Linked DNA regions of Homo sapiens: region 2 is linked to region 1. Evidence: promoter capture Hi-C in human tissues and cell types (Jung and others, 2019). All regions are on one chromosome and are shown on one strand. The core of a region is centred on a gene start or on the middle of the fragment in contact, and the rest is flanking DNA. Distances in the headings are between cores, read along the strand shown. Region 1 holds the start of ZNF844 (zinc finger protein 844). Region 2 has its middle 22 kb from the start of LINC02926.

Region 1 (4,262 bases), core at 1,743-4,242:
CCAGCACTTTGGGAGGAAGAAGTGGGTGGATCACGACGTCAGGGATTCAAGACCAGCCTGGCCAACATGGTGAAACCCTGTCTGTACTAAAAATACAAAAAATTAGCTGGGTGTAGTGGTACATACCTGTAATCCCAGCTACTCAGGAGGCTGTGGCAGGAGAATTGCTTGAACCCAGGAGGCAGAGGAGATCTAGACCATCCTGGCTAACACGGTGAAACCCCCTCTCTACTAAAAATACAAAAAAAAAATTAGCCGGGCGTGGTGGCAGGCGCCTGTAGTCCCAGCTACTCGGGAGGCTGAGGCAGGAGAATGGCGTGAACCCAGGAGGCGGAGCTTGCAGTGAGCTAAAATCGCACCACTGGACTCCAGCCTGGGTGACAGAGCGAGACTCCGTCTCAAAAAAATAAAAATAAAAATAAAAACCCGGGTGGACAAGAAACAAAAAATAAAAAGAATTTTAAAACTGTAAAACTGTTGTTGAGTACTAATGTGCTCATAACTATTGAGCAGAACAGAAGTTTATGACATAGACTGAACTAAGGGAAGACTAAAATAATCTTTTTATAGCTTTTTGTTTAAAATATTGCTAATTCTTTTGTTTTTCAAAGTCCAGAAAAACTTTTTTTTTTTTTTTTTTGAGATGGAATCTCACTTTGTCACCCAGGCTGGAGTGCAGTCACTCAATCTCAGCATCTCGCTCACTGCAACCTCCACCTCCCAGGTTCAAGTAATTCTCCTGCCTCAGCCTCCAGAGTAGCTGGGATTACAGGCACCCGCCACCAGGCCTGGCTAATTTCTGTATTTTTTAGTAGAGACTGGGTTTCGCCATGTTGGCCAGCTGGTCTTGAGCTCCTGACCTTAGGTGATCTGCCCGCCTTGGCCTCCCAAAGTGCTGGGATTACAGGCGTGAGCCACCGTGCCTGGCCATAGGTATCACTTTCTTTACGGCCCAGAACAAATAGCCCTCCTAAACAAATAATGTACATAACTCACAAATTTCTTGCTTACCATCAAAAACCTTGATTTATCAAACATTTCAGGTGACAAAACAATGCAAGTTCCCAAGTTGCATTCTATAAAATCTCTAGCAAACCTTTGTTTCTTTGCAGCCGGCTCCCTTCTGCTGGTTCTGCCTGTTGCCTTCTTGCAAGGTACTTTCATATTTTCCTTAATAAATCTGCCTTTTTTTTTTTTTTTTTTTTTTTTTTTACCTACAACTGTCTTGGTAAATCCCTTTTTTTTTTTTTTTTTTTTTTTGAGATGGAGTCTTGCTCTGTTGCCCAGGCTGGAGTGCAGTGGCACAATCTCGACTCACTGCAGCCTTTGCCTCCCGATTCTCCAGCGATTCTCCTGCCTCAGCCTCCTGGGTAGTTGGGATTACAGGCGCCCACCACCAAGCCCGGCTAATTTTTGTATTTTTAGTAGAGATGGGGTTTCGCCACATTGGCCAGGCTGGTTTCAAACTCCTGACCTCAGGTGATCCGCCCGCCTCGGTCTCCCAAAGTGCTGGGATTACAGGTGTGAGCCACATCGCCCGGCCAGTCTTGATAAATTCTTTTACCCTTGCGCCACTGGCCCAGATAGTAGCCACTCACCCACAACATAGATGAAGACTCCCACAGAGAGAATGGATGCAAAATGCTTCTTTTAAGAATTTCTGGCCGGGCACGGTTGCTCACGCCTGTAATCCCAGCACTTTGGGAGGCCGAGACGGGCGGATCACGAGGTCAGGAGATCGAGACCATCGTGGCTAACACGGTGAAACCCCGTCTCTACTAAAAGCACAAAAAATTAGCCAGGCATGGTGGCAGGCGCCTGTGGTCCCAGCTACTCGGGAGGCTGAGACAGGAGAATGGCGTGAACCCGGGAGGCGGAGCTTGCGGTGAGCCGAGATCGCGTCACTCACTCCAGCCTGGGCAACAGAGCAAGACACCATCTCAAAAAAAAAAAAAAAAAAAAGCAAAACCAGAATTTCTTACTTATTTTGTTTTTTGGTCTCACTCTGTTGCCCAGGCTGGAGTGTACTGGTGCAATCACAGCTCACTGCAGCCCTCGACTCCTGGGCCAAAGTGATTCTCCTGCCCTGGCCTCCTAAAGTGCTGGTATTACAGGCCCCAGCCACCTTGCCTGGCCTCTTTCCAGACTTTTTTTGTTTTTGTTTTTTTTGAGACGGAGTTTCATTCTTGTTGCCCAGGCTGGAGTCCAGTGGCATGATCTCGGCTCACTGCAACCTCCGCCTCCCAGCTTCAAGTGATTCTCCTGCCTCAGCCTCCCACATAGCTAGGATTACAGGCGTCCGCCACCACGACTGGCTAATATTTTGTATTTTAGTAGAGATGTGGTTTCACCATGTTGGCCAGGCTGGTCTCGAACTCCCGACCACAGGTGATATACCCGCCTCGGCCTCCCAAAGTGCTGAAATTACAGGCGTGAGCCGCCGCGCCCGGCTTTCCAGACTTTTAAAAGTGTCAGACTCTCAATTTCTCCCGGATCAGGGAAAGGGAAAAGGGGAGAGGGGGCATGGCTTCACTAATGGAAATACTCCATAGACGCAAATTTCACCCCCCAGAAGACAGTTGTGCAAGGGCAAAGCTGCAGCCATTCGAAATTGCCAAATAAATATATTTTGGAATAAAATATTTTAATTGCTTTCACCTCTATTAAACATAGAGTCTGGAACTCCCTGCACACACTTATGACACTGTGCAGGACGAAGAAGCAGGGACAGACCATTGACAGAGCCACTTCTAGTAATTAAGACGAGCAAGTTTGGCCGAAATGCAAATTTTCAAAGAGCAGGGCGTAGAGAGGGAACTTGACCTTGGACTGTGGCTTGAAGCGGTCAGTCCTGCTCTGCTTGGCCCTGTTACCCAGGACTTCTGCTGTCACTCAGGATGCAGGGGGCGGGGCCTGGCGCTCCACCCAATCAGAGTCGCCGGGGTGGGGCCCGGCCAACTGTTTATCCGCGGGTCACATTGCCGTTCGCCTCAGTCTTTGGCCCCTCCCGCCGGGTGAGGTTGGCACCCCGTTTTTCCTGCTCTGAGAGGGACCGGTTGCCACCGCCATACTTCTGTCGCCCTGTCGTCTGTGTTGTGACTGCTTTGGACGTGGGAGTCACCTGAAAGCCAGGAAATGGTGAGTGTGAGCCCCCGCTGGGAGTCCCGAGACTTGGGGGAGGGTAGGCGGAGGCTGGTTGGAACTGGCTGGAACCGGCTGTGCCGGGACCCGGACCTCCCCGCGGCGACTCGAGGTCTGGGGCCCGAGCCCCGCTGGCGCAGCTCGGCCTTCGGTCCATTCGGCCGCCGGGTGCGGCTGGGCCGGCAGCCGGGACCCCTGGGCGCCCTGTCTCGTCGCCGCGCGGCGACTGCGGCCCCAGCCCGGGAGCCCTCTCTGGACAGCTCCGCGCCCGCAGCCCGGAGCCTCTCCATATTGTGCGGGGCCACGGGAGGGTCATGGGGGCAATCCCGCCTTGGGTGTGGGGCTCGTGCGGGAGGAGCTGCGCTGTGAGGCCCTCAGTGCCCCCTTTCTCCTGTTAAAACTTAAACAGGCCCGGTGCTGGGAATAGAGGCGTGAGCCACCGCGCCTGGCCTAGCGTGGAGAACTTGTGACAGCGGATAAATGTTTTCCCTGCTGTCTGTGGCTTAGAGCTTGGCAACTGCTGTCGTGTTTTTGTTCACATCATGATCAATGTGTACTAGATGCTTTGTTGTTGTAATCGCCTGAGGGGTTCTTCCTGCCTGTGCTGCAAAAAGAAAGACCAGGGCATTGCAGTAAAGAAAATGTTTGACACGAGATGGACCACGCAACGCCGAAGACGGAGACAGAGTTAGCACTCAAATCAGTCTCCCCGAAGGCTTATAGTTAGGGATTTTTCTTTAATATTTTTTTCTTACAATTTTTTTTTTTTTTTTTAAGACAGAGTCTCGCTCTTTTTTGCCCAGGCTGGAGTGCAATGACACGATCTGGGCTCAGTGCAACCTCTGCCTCCCGGATTCAAGCGATTCTTCTGCTCAGCTTCCCTAGTAGCTGGGGTTACAGGCACGCCACCACGCCCTGCTGATTTCTGTATTTTCAGTAAAGACGGGGTTTCACCGTGTTGGCCAAGGTGGTCTTGAACTCCTGACCTCAGGTGATCCGCCCGCATCGGCCTCCTAAAGGGCTAGGATTACAGGCGTGAGCCACCTGGCCCGGCTAAAAATTGTTTTTTAAACAAGGTCTCACTCTGTCGCCCAGGTTGGAGTGCATGGCGCGATCACGGC
Region 2 (4,290 bases), core at 797-3,296, 510 kb after region 1:
CCAGATGGCCTGAAGCAAGTGAAGAATCACAAAAGAAGTGAAAATAGCTGGTTCCTGCCTTAACTGACATTACCTTGTGAAATTCCTTTTCTTGGCTCAGAAGCTCCTCCACTGAGCACCTTATGACCCCCACTCCTGCCCGCGAGAAAACAACCCCCTTTGACTGTAATTTTCCACTACCTACCCAAATCCTATAAAACAGCCCCACCCCTATCTCCCTTCACTGACTCTTTCTGGACTCAGCCTGCCTGCACCCAGGTGAAATAAACAGCTTTACTGCTCACACAAAGCCTGTTTGGTGGTCTCTTCACACGGACACGCGTGACAACCCGATTTTTCTTTTTTTTAATCTTATGACCTCATTTTTCTCAGAGATGAAGTCTTGTTATGTTGCCTAGGCTGGTCTTGAAATCCTGGCCTCAAATGATCCTCTTGCCTAGGCCTCGCAAAGTGCTGGCATTACAGGCATGAGCCACCGCACCTAACTTAAAGTTTTTTTTTTTTTTTTGAAACGGAGATTCACTCTTGTTGCCCAGGCTGGAGTGCAATGGCGTGATCTCAACTCACTGCAACCTCTACCTCCCGAGTTCAAGCGATTCGCCTGCCTCAGTCTCCCAAGTAGCTGGGATTACAGGTGTGAGCCATTTGCCCAGCCTAGCTTAAATTTTTAAACAAAACTTCTCTCTTCCTTTTTTTTTTGTTTGTTTTTGAGATGGAGTCTCGCTCTGTTGCCCAGGCTAGAGTGCAATGGCGCAATCTTGGCTCACTGCAACCTCCGCCTCCCGGGTTCAAGCTATTCTCATGTTTCAGCCTCCCGAGAAGCTGGGATTACAGGCACCCACCACCACGCCCGGCTAATTTTTGTATTTTTAGTAGAGACCAGTTTTCGTCATGTTGATCAGGTTGGTCTCGAACTCCTGACCTCAGGTGATCCGCCGGCCTCGGCCTCCCAAAGTGCTGGGATTACAGGCGTGAGCCACCGCGCCCAGCTTACTTCTTTCTTCCTTAACCAATTGCAAATGTGATCTTTGAATCTACCTGTGACTTATGAGCCCCACTTCAAGATATTCCATTCTTTTAAGCTTATACCACTGTGTAACCTCCATGTACTGATTTATGATTCTTGCCTGTAGCCTCTGCTTTCCTGAAATTTACCCCTGCCTTTTCCGTGTGTGTCTGTGTGTGTGTTTCCCCTGCTGTCTTTACAATACTCCTGCCTTTAAAAACTCTTACCTGCGGCCAGGTGCGGTGGCTTACCCCTATAATCCCAGCACTTTGGGAGGCCAATGTGGGCAGATCACCCGAGGTCAGGAGTCCAAGACCAGCCTGGCCAACATGGTGAAACCCCATCTCTACTAAAAATACAAAAAATTAGCTGGGCGTGGTGGCAGGTGCCTGTAATCCCAGCTACTCGGGGGCGGGGACGGGGGAGACTGAGGCAGGAGAATTGCTTAAACCCAGGAGGCAGAGGTTGCAGTGAGCCGAGATTGCACCATTGCACTCCAGCCTGGGTGACAGAGCAAGATTCCGTCTCAGAAAAACAAAACAAAACAAAACAAAAAACCCAAAAACTCTTACCTGCAAGCTATTGGGAGCTCAAGTCAGGCCAGGTGAGGTGGCTCACTCCTGTAATCCCAGCACTTTGGGAGGCCGAGGCTGGTGGATCACAAGGTCAGGAGATCGAGACCAGCCTGACCAACATGGTGGAACCCCATCTCTACTAAAAATACAAAAAATTAGCCAGGTGTGGTGGCACGTGCCTGTAGTCCCAGTTACTCGGGAGGCTGAGGCAGGAGAATAGCTTGAACTCCGGAGGTGGAGGTTGCAGTGAGCTGAGATCGCGCCACTGCACTCCAGCCTGGGCGACAGAGTGAGAGTCTGTCTCAGCACTCCTGCCTGGGCCATAGAGCAAGACTCTGTCTCAAAATAAATAAATAAATAAATTATAGAGTGTACCTTCTTACATTTAGTGGGACTCCTAGATATAACTGATTCCTGGGATTGATTAATCCCATGAAGGATTGTCAGTTAGTGCATTACAGAGATGTTAAAATTAAAAATTTTAACCCGGGAGGCGGAGATTGCAGTGAGCCGAGATCGCGCCTCCAGCCTGGGCAACAGGGAGACTCCATCTATAAATAAATAAATAAATTAATTAAATGGGGCCTAGCTATGCTGACCAGGCTGGTCTCAACTTCCTGGGATCAAGTAATGCTCCCACCTTGTGTCCTAAAGCACTGGCATTACAGGTGTGAGCTACTATGCCTGGCCTCACGTTGACATCTGATCTCCAAAGCAGCTGTTTTGAGAGGTGCGGCCAGGTGGCAGGTGTTTGGGTCAAAAAGGCAACTCCATCACAATAGATTAACGCCCTTCTGTTATTGCTTTCACAGGAATGGTTCCCACGAGAGTAGGTTATTAAAGGGTCTGTCTTCCTTGATGTCCTCTTACTTCCTGTCTCACCACGTGATCTCTGCACACGCTGGTTCCCCTTCTGCTTTCTGCCGCAAATGTAGGCAGGTGAAACCCTCTCCAGATGCAGCCTGAACAAGATTTTACTAATGAGAAGAGCATGAAGTCTTTCATGAGGCATCTACCCTATGACTTAAACACCTCCCACTAGGCCTAAAACCACTACACTGGACCATATTTCAATAACTATGGAGAAGACATTGAAACCCTAGCAGGAATTTCCTGGATGACAACAGATGCTTTACATAATTTAAGGATACTGGGATTTATTCAGGTTTGAATACGTTTGTTGAGCTACAGGAATGCCACAGGGGTTGTCCCTTATAACCCAGAGGATCAGGGTCTCTGTTGAGATAGAGGCATGGGCAGCGGCAGCAGCAGAGGTACTTAAAGGTCCAGCTGAGTGTGAACTTCAGGACACCATCTAATGGTAGCTTCCCCACCTTCTCTTCTTTCGCATTTTTTCTTTTTTCTTTTTTTTGAGATGGAGTCTCGCTCTGCTGCCCAGGTTTATGTGCAGTAGGGCAATCTTAGCTCACCGCAACCTCCACCTCCCAGGTTCAAGTGATACTCCTGCCTCAGTCTCCTGAGTAGCTGTGATTACAGGTGTAAACCACCACGCCTAGCCTTCTTTCTCACTTTTTTTTTTTTTTTTTTGAGACGGAGTCTTACTCTGTCGCCCAGGCTGGAGTGCAGTGGTGCGATCTCGGCTCACTGCAACCTCTGCCTCCCAGGTTCAAGAGATTCTACTGCCTCAGCCTCCCGAGTAGCTGGCATTACAGGCGTCCACCACTATGCCCAGCTAATTTTTGTATTTTTAGTAGAGATGGGGTTTCACCATAATGGCCAGGCTGGTCTCAAACTTCTGACCTCAGGTGATCTGTCTGCCTTGGCCTCCCAAAGTGGTGGGATTACAAGCGTGAGCCACCACCACTGCGCCAGGCTCTTTCTCATTTTCAAATGACTGCTCTTTCAGGAATGACCACTAATGGGGCCCCAACATGCACAAGATAAAATCTCACCACCAGCCCCCACCACCAGACCTACAGGACAAGGCCAACACCTAGCATCAGTCCCAGCTTCATTCTACATAGAAAGGCAAAGTGAAAACTCCTAGCCCAGACCATTTTAAGGAGGGCCCAAATCCGATACTCCTGCTCCTAAATGCCAAAGACTTATAGAAACTGCCATCTTCGGTTGGCTAAATCTGGAACACAAGTTTGTTCGGCCTCAGCAATGGAACACAGAGCAGCAAGCAGCAGCAGCTCAAAGAGCATGCTGGCCACCAGGTAGCAGAGCAGGTTAGCACCTGAGAGAAAGGGAAAGCTGACCCATTGCATGGTGACCAACATCTAGACATCCTGCTGACAGTGCCAACTGTTACGGTTGCCTGAAAAGGTGTGCTTCAGAGGTTGACACCGAGAGCTATGTGGTGCACACACACACCGAGAGTATGAAAAGGCTTATTACAAAAATGAGGTATCAGAGAGAACAATGCAGGGCTCTCAAGCAAGTGTGACATGGCGTGAGAGCAAGGAAGATGGCATTCCTGTCCCTTATGAGTACTGATGCAAAAATCTTGAAATAAATGCCAGCAAAGCATATAAAGCAATATATTCAAAGCATTATGCAATATAACCAAGTGAGATTTGTCCCTGGAATGTAAGGATGGTTCACCATATGGAAATTGATCAGTGGAATACACCACATTAGGAAATGACGGAAAAATGACAGTCTCAATTGATGCAAAAAAGCATGACATAATTCAACACCCATTTATGATTAAAAATCTGCAACAAACAAGGAATATAATTTACT

Evidence for each region. Contacts are between HindIII fragments. The study calls those that stand out against the background at their distance.
Region 2: a contact is called between a fragment that was not itself captured here and the fragment with the promoter of ZNF844 in region 1, in 1 of the 25 tissues and cell types used here (spleen).

The regions. Positions count from the first base shown.
Region 1 is chr19:12,061,739-12,066,000 of GRCh38, forward strand. It overlaps ZNF844 (zinc finger protein 844), which reads left to right and starts at 2,993. Exons shown (of 4, transcript NM_001136501.3): 1 at 2,993-3,138. The coding sequence starts at 3,136. RefSeq lists an enhancer at 3,078-3,167 and a silencer at 3,258-3,437. The HindIII fragment of the contact is 18,413 bases long and covers 1-4,262 here.
Region 2 is chr19:12,571,770-12,576,059 of GRCh38, forward strand. No RefSeq gene overlaps it. Among named protein-coding and RNA genes, the nearest start is that of LINC02926, 22 kb to the left of the region's middle. The HindIII fragment of the contact is 5,850 bases long and covers 1-4,290 here.